Linked DNA regions of Homo sapiens: region 2 is linked to region 1. Evidence: promoter capture Hi-C in human tissues and cell types (Jung and others, 2019). All regions are on one chromosome and are shown on one strand. The core of a region is centred on a gene start or on the middle of the fragment in contact, and the rest is flanking DNA. Distances in the headings are between cores, read along the strand shown. Region 1 holds the start of SBK1 (SH3 domain binding kinase 1). Region 2 overlaps GTF3C1 (general transcription factor IIIC subunit 1).

Region 1 (3,549 bases), core at 270-2,769:
CCCTCTCTATCACTTTACATGCGACCCCAGTCGCTCATGTCTGCGCCTGTAGGTACTTGCGTTTGCAATCCCTGGCTCCTAAAGCTCTGGAAACAGTCGGGAGTGGCTGGGAGGATTACGCTGGGTTGAGAAAACAGCCTGATCAAAAACTTAGAAGAAATAGGGGCAGTCATAAAAAATGATGAGTTCATGTCCTTTGTAGGGACATGGATGAAGCTGGAAACCATCATTCTCAGCAAACTATCGCAAGGACAAAAAACCAAACACCGCATGTTCTCACTCATAGGTGGGAATTGAACAAAGAGAACACATGGACACAGGAAGGGGAACATCACACACCAGGGACTGTTGTGGGGTGGGGGGAAGGGGGAGGGATAGCATTAGGAGATATACCTAATGCTAAATGACGAGTTAATGGGTGCAGCACACCAACATGGCACACGTATACATACGTAACAAACCTGCATGTTGTGCATATGTACCCTAAAACTTAAAGTATAATAATAATTAAAAAAAAGAATGAAAAAGAAATGCTTTTGAAGCTTGAAGCTAAAAAAACAAAAAAAAAAGAAAGAAATAGGGAAGGCGTCCTATTGGGGCTTTCTCACTAGGGAAAGAGTGAGCTGCAGGGAGGAGAAAGAACAGGGCCTGGAAGGACGAGCTGTCCCTATCTCATCTCTGTCCCCATCCACCCACTTCATCCAGGCCACCAATTTCCGGTTATCAAACAGACAATGCAACATCCCTTACACCTGCTGTACCTCTGCCTAGAATCTCCTTTCTTCCCTTCTATCCGGCGAGCAGTTCCTCCCAGCTGCACTCCTGGACTAGTCACTGCCTATTTGCAGCAGGGATCGCAAAGGCGACCTCAGTTGGATAGGGCAACCACCCAGGCCCAAGTTTATGACCTCTTCCCCAAGAAGACTGTGAGTTCTCTGACGTCTCGCTGGAAATAGGATGCATGGATGGATGGATGGATGGATGGACGGACGGATGGATGGATGGATGGAAGCGCAGGCAGGCAGGCGGACGCATGGATGAATGAAATGCATATCCGAATGCAGAACCTGGATTTGTTTTCCCTCCTTCAAACACACACAGGCTCCGCCCCACTAGCACAGACCGGGACAGTCTGGGGCAGTCTCGTCCCGCAGGGCCCAGAAAGCTGGACCAGGTGACCCTCTCAGACTCCCCCGAGTCCTCTGTAACCTCGTTCTCGCCCCCTCGTGGGCTCTGACCTAGAAAAGGAGTGGGGTGGGTGGGGGGTGGGGGGTGGGAGCCAGCTCGGGAGCCACCGGCGCTAGGACCCAGCGCGGCCGGAAGGGGGTGGGGGCGCCGCGCGGGGAGAATCTGCGCTCCGCGGCGCGCGGCGGGAGGGCGGGCGCGCGGCGGGTGAGCGCGCTTGCGCGAGGGCGCGCGCCGAGCGGGACGGACAAAGGGGCGGGCGGCGGCGCGCGAGCCGGAGGGCGGAGCCGCGGGCCGGGCGGGCAGGTGCGCGCTGGCTGGAGGGCGGAGCCGCGATGCCGCGATGGAGCGCAGCCCGGGCGGGCGCCGGGGCCGGGGCCCGAGCGCCAGGCGGAGCGCGAGCTGGAGCCGCAGCCGGAGCCCGGGCCAGGCCGGGGGCCGGGAGCGCAGGGCCGGGCTGCTCGTAGCGGCGGCGACCGAGCCCCCCAGCGGCTGAGGGGCTTCCAGCGCCCGCCGGTGGCCGGGACCCACTAAAGCCCCCGCAGCCGAGGAGTGCGGGGAGCCCCCTTCCACATCCAGGATCCGGCGAGCCTCGGGGAAGAGGGGGGGCCCTCCCGGATCCGACACCGAGCGACTCCCCTGCGGGGAAAGCGGAGACTTCCTCGGTATTTAGAAGACAGCAAGCCCCCTACGGCACCGCAAGGACTCCCCCTCCTCAGTCTGGGCCCCCGCCCCAAGACCTAGAACGCAGTGCCCCCAGGCCGGGATTGCGAGAACCCCCTCCCAAGATCCGGTCATTACAACTCCACACCTCAAGACAAGAAGACCCAGCTCAGAACGCCCCTAGATCAGGGGATCCCAATTCCCCCCAACTCCGGTACATAGAAATCCCAAATCTAGGCAGCCGGGGACAGCAAGAGACACTCTCACCAGCAAGAAGCCTCGGGGATCCCCCCCCTAAAGCTCCAGGACTTGGGCGACTGAGCCCCTGGCGGCACCGCTTGCACCCCGGTCCATGGTCGTGGCGCCCTGAGCCCCCGGGGCCGGGCAGACGAAGACCGCGACGGCGCCCAGGCCCCCTGCCGCGGCGTCCCCGCGGCCCCAGCCCAGGTAAGCCGGGCCCAGGTGAGGGGCGGCAGGTGAGTGGCCACCGAGGTCCCCATAGCCCTGCAGGTGGGGAAGGAAGTATCGGGTTGCGCGCTCCCCCTTCCCCAGCGTCGCCATGGAGCCGAGGCTGAAGGACGTCTCTTTGTGTCTCGCTTGGAGGAGCCGCCCCCTCCTCCTCTCCCTTCCCCCACCCCACTCCCTAGCCTTGAGGCTCGGGCGCAGCTCCCCGGCCCCACGGAGGAGTGGTGGTGGAGCCCGTTGTGCCATGGAGAGGGGGGAAGAGGGCGGAGAGTCCCCCCCCAAAAGCTGCGAGCCTGGAGGTTGGCCCCCAGGTCCTTGGAGTGTGAATACCCCTCCCCCACGGCCAAGCTGAGCTTCTAGTGAAGTCCCCCCGAGAGGGGAAAATTTGGGGGTGCCCACAGGTGAGGGGGGCTGCCTTATGTGGCCCTGGGTGATGGCTGGGGCTTCGGGTGTGTGTCTTTGTCTGTGAGAGTGCGGGGAAGGGGTGTGTTTGAGCGGATGAATGGGAATCGCATCTTCCCTGTGACTCTGCTGCCCGACCCAGGCCACACTGGCGGTCTTTACCTAAACCATACTTTGTACTCCCTGTGGGACAGGGAGGGAGTAAGTACCCCCCAAAGTGAGGCGCTAGTTTCTGGGGAGGAGAGGTAGCCTAGATGAAGAAGCTATTTCAGGTCAGGGCACCGTTCTGTTCCCATTTGTCCCAGGGACAGCAACCCAAGTCTTTCCCTTCCCCTCCTAACCTGGAGAACACCCAGGTTAAACCAAGGGTTGGCTCAATGTGTCCCAGACAACCAAGGGCCAATTCCAGGGTCTCACTGTGGCTTTCCAGGTGGTACACACGGCCGTACCCCAGCCTGGCCCTCAGTGAGGTCCTGAACCCCAGGCTCTACCGCATATGAGGAAGCCGAGAGACCCTAGGGGACATTGTACCCTGAAATCCTGAATCAGATCCTGAGAAGGGGCTGGACTGCATGGAAAGAACACACTCTGGGCTGCTGGGAGTTCCTCTCATCTCTTCTCTCTGAGCCTTCTGCAGACAAGCAGTGATGCTGGACCCATTTGATAGGTGCACAAACTGAGGCTCGGGAAGGCAGGACCCAGGATACAGCTAGCCCTGCCAGTAGCTCCTTCACTTATTCATTCAACAAACCTGTCGCCAATGTCTGTGATGGACCATGCGCTAGAGTCAGGGTCCTTTTCCCCACTTCATTCCTATCTCCTTTCTTGATGTCT
Region 2 (3,549 bases), core at 308-2,807, 750 kb before region 1:
GATGAGAGTAGACAGGGAAGAAATGTGGAAAAGTCTGCAAGTCAAGAAAGAAGGTGGAAGTTAGCAGAGTTCACATTGCCCTGTAAAGTAGGAAGGAAGGCAGGAATGGAGTTAGGTGCTTGAAAAAAAATGATCATTTGGATTAGACACTCTGGGGAATTGGGATACTGACTGAGGATTCACAAGAGAATGGCTTGGCAGCACAGGGCCCAGGTAGGAAGAGAGAAAGGGCACCATTCAAGTGCTCAAGGACTGTGAGCACAAAGGAAAGAGAAAGGCAGGACCCGTGACCCCAGTGAAGAAGGCGAATGAAGGCCAAGAACTGGCGTAGTGCAGGGCTAGTGAACTCTGACAGACTCCAAGGTTGTGGGCCAGATCCAAGTGCTCTGACTACACATTCAAAGCACTCAGATTCCCAGGAATTTCTTTTTTCCTTTTTTTTTTTTTTTGTAGACAGGGTCTGACTCTGTTGCCTAGGCTGAAGTGCAGTGGCATGACCTCGGCTCACTGCAGCCTGCCTCTGCTTTCTGGGTTCAAGTGATTCTCATGCCTCAGCCACTACAGTAGCTGGGATTATGGGCATGTGCCACCACACCCGGCTAATTTTTGTATTTTTAGTAGAAACAGCGTTTTGCCATGTTGGCCAGGCTGGTCTTGAACTCCTGGCCTCAAGTGATCCACCTGCCTCGGCCTCTTAAAGTGCTGGGATTACAGGCGTGAGCCACCGTACCCGGCCAGATTCCCAGGAATTTCTGATGGTGCAAAATAGTTACCTGTCAAAGGCTTCCACCATTGTACAGCGAGGCTGCAAGGACTTGGTTCTGATGTCATTGGTAATGTTTTTCCTCTCCTTAAAGTAGCGGCATGAGCCCTGGATGCCATCCTTATTCTCTAAGATCATATGAATGGGGTAGACATCCTCCAAAGCCACCGGGTCCCTCCTAGACTCCAAAATTCCAGTTTCCAAATCAATTTCTTCATACCTAAGGAGAAAAACACAAATATCAAAGCCCAACTCAGCTTCAGATATAATGTGTGCTTGGCTGTGTTCTTTTGACAACCTCCAGCAGAGATCAGAGAGAAGTGAGATCAGTCAGTTTTCCTGCCTTATAAATGCAGATAATCTTGACAAGCAGGTTCCTGCCTTTCTATCCCACAGAACGCAGACCTTTCCAGGACTCCCCAGACTATTCCAGAAGCTGGGTGCTGGGACCTAAACCTCCTTATTGGCCAAGTCATGGGCTTTTGTTTCCCTCCAAATCTGGTACTCAGTCTCCAAACCACCAAGTTGGACGAAATGATTCAAGGCTTTCCTCCGCTTTTTTGAGATGGAGTTTTGCTCTTGTTGCCCAGGCTAGAGTCCAATGGCATGATCTTGGCTCACTGCAACCTCCACTTCCCAGGTTCAAGCAATTCTCCTGCCTGAGCCTCCCAAGGAGCTGGGATTATAGGGGTGTGCCACCACGCCCGGCTAATTTTGTATTTTTAGTAGAGATGACGGTTCACCATGTTGGTCAGGGTGGTCTCGAACTCCTGACCTCGGTGATCCACCCGCCTCAGCTTCCCAAAGTGCTGAGATTACAGGTGGGAGCCACCACAAGTGGCCAAAGCTTTCCTCCCTTTAAGATCTCATCTTTCCATCTCTCCTTAGTTATCTCTCTAATATCCTAACCCATTTTCATGGTTTGCATTACCGCCTGCATGTTAACAAGTCTCACCTTTGAATCCTCAGTCCTTTTTCTCCAAATACAGATCCAATGTCTTCACTTGTCTATTAAATGCCTCCCATTCCAAATATGATTACCTCTCCCCAGCTCCAATTAAGTCCCTTCTTTCCCCTCTTACTACCGCTTTCTTCCATGTGCCTCTTACAACACCATGGAGACATTTTTCATTTGTGCTTCTTTCATGCAGTTAGCCAAGCTTGTCAAGTTTTTTTTTTTTTGAAAAAAAAAAAAAATACATACATATATATATATATAATTTTTTTTCCCCTCACTATGTTGCCCAGATTGGTCTTGAACTACCGGGCTCAAGTAATCTGCCCACTTCAGCCTTGCAAAGTGCTAGGATTACAGGTGTGAGCCACCTTGCCTGGCTGCTTGTCGAGTTTTATTTTGAAATCTCACTCATATCCTACACTAGTCTAATTGCGGCTAAATCCTATGTACATGTTTCAGCCCTTTCCTTCCTTGCCCCCTCTGTGTTATCTGCACCATTTAACCCTCCATTCCTTTTTTTTAAGACTTGAGTTTTGATCTTGTCACCCAGGCTGGAGTGCAGTGGCGCAATCTCGGCTCACTGCAACCTCTACCTTCTGGGTTCAAGCGATTCTCCTGCCTCAGCCTCCCTAGTAGCTGGGATCACAGGCACCTGCCACCACACCCAGCTAATTTTTGTATTTTTAGTAGAGAGAGGGTTTCACGATGTTGGCCAAATGATCCACCTGCCTCGGCCTCCCAAAGTGCTGGGATTACAGGCATGATTCACCACACCCAGCCCAACCCTCCGTTCTTAAATGATCCTGTCTCCTCCCAAACTTCCAGAACACCACTCTGACCTGACTGTCCTCTACCTCTCCAGCCACACCGCCTCAGTCTTCTTTTGAAAGTCCCTCACCCTCCATCCAGCCTTGAAATGTAGGTGCACTGCAGAGCTATATCTCAAGACCTCCAACCACACTACACTCTCTCTTAGGGCTGATCTTAGCCAGCTGCTTTAATTACCAGCTGCTAGGAATGACTCACAGATGTCTAGCTCAGTCCCTCCCTCTGGCCTGCTTTCACTCCCACGAAGCCAGATGTTTACTAATTAAGACTCTTCACTTGGACAACTCAAAAGAACCTGAAGCTAAATGTGTCACATGTCTCTTCAGCAAAGTCCCCACCTCCCCCAGACTCAACCCCCACGCTGTTCTTCCGTGTTCCCAGCCTCAGAGATGAGAATCAGGGTTCGCTCAGGTGCCCAAACAGCAGCCTACTATGTCTTGACTGCCTGTGCTCTTCATCCCCACGCCCACCATGGTAAGCCAGACCATGACTAGATTACTAAAAATCTCTCAACTTCACTCTTTGCCCCTAGTCTGACCCTCTCTTCAGTGACTTCTCACTGTCCTTTTGATAAAGGATAAGCTTTTTTTTTGAGATGGATTCTCCCTCTGTCACCCAGGCTGGAGTGCAGTGGCACAATCTCGGCTCACTGCAGCCTCCACCTAGCTGGGATTTCAGGCGTCTACCACCACGCCCAGCTAATTTTTGTATTTTTAGTAGACATGGGGTTTCACCATGTTGGCTGGACTGGTCTTGAACTCCTGACCTCAAGTTATCCGCCCACCTCTGCCTCTCAAAGTGCTGGGATTACAGGCTGATAAACTCTTTAAGTAGGTTAAAAGACTTGATTCCAGTCCAATTTGGCTGGAATCTGAACTCAGACCTTCCTCAAAGTCTGGGTTCTTCCCTTGCTAGTTGACTTTTAGCATGCCACTTGACCCCTCAGGGCCTCGATTTTCTCTTCAGGAAAATGGGGAGAATATTACCCATCTCCTAAGGT

What was found. The method cuts DNA at HindIII sites, captures the fragments that hold promoters and counts their contacts. A contact is called where the count stands out against the background at its distance.
Region 2: a fragment that was not itself captured here is called in contact with the fragment with the promoter of SBK1 in region 1 in 1 of the 25 tissues and cell types used here (dorsolateral prefrontal cortex).

The regions. Positions count from the first base shown.
Region 1 is chr16:28,291,006-28,294,554 of GRCh38, forward strand. SBK1 (SH3 domain binding kinase 1) reads left to right here and starts at 1,520. Exons shown (of 4, transcript NM_001024401.3): 1 at 1,520-2,295. LOC124903670 (a long non-coding RNA gene) reads right to left here and starts at 1,060. Exons shown (of 2, transcript XR_007065033.1): 1 at 762-1,060. RefSeq lists silencers at 1,012-1,183, 1,391-1,620. The HindIII fragment of the contact is 7,957 bases long and covers 1-3,549 here.
Region 2 is chr16:27,544,541-27,548,089 of GRCh38, forward strand. It overlaps GTF3C1 (general transcription factor IIIC subunit 1), which reads right to left. Exons shown (of 37, transcript NM_001520.4): 2 at 774-983. Among named protein-coding and RNA genes, the nearest start is that of GTF3C1, 3.6 kb to the right of the region's middle. The HindIII fragment of the contact is 4,315 bases long and covers 1-3,549 here.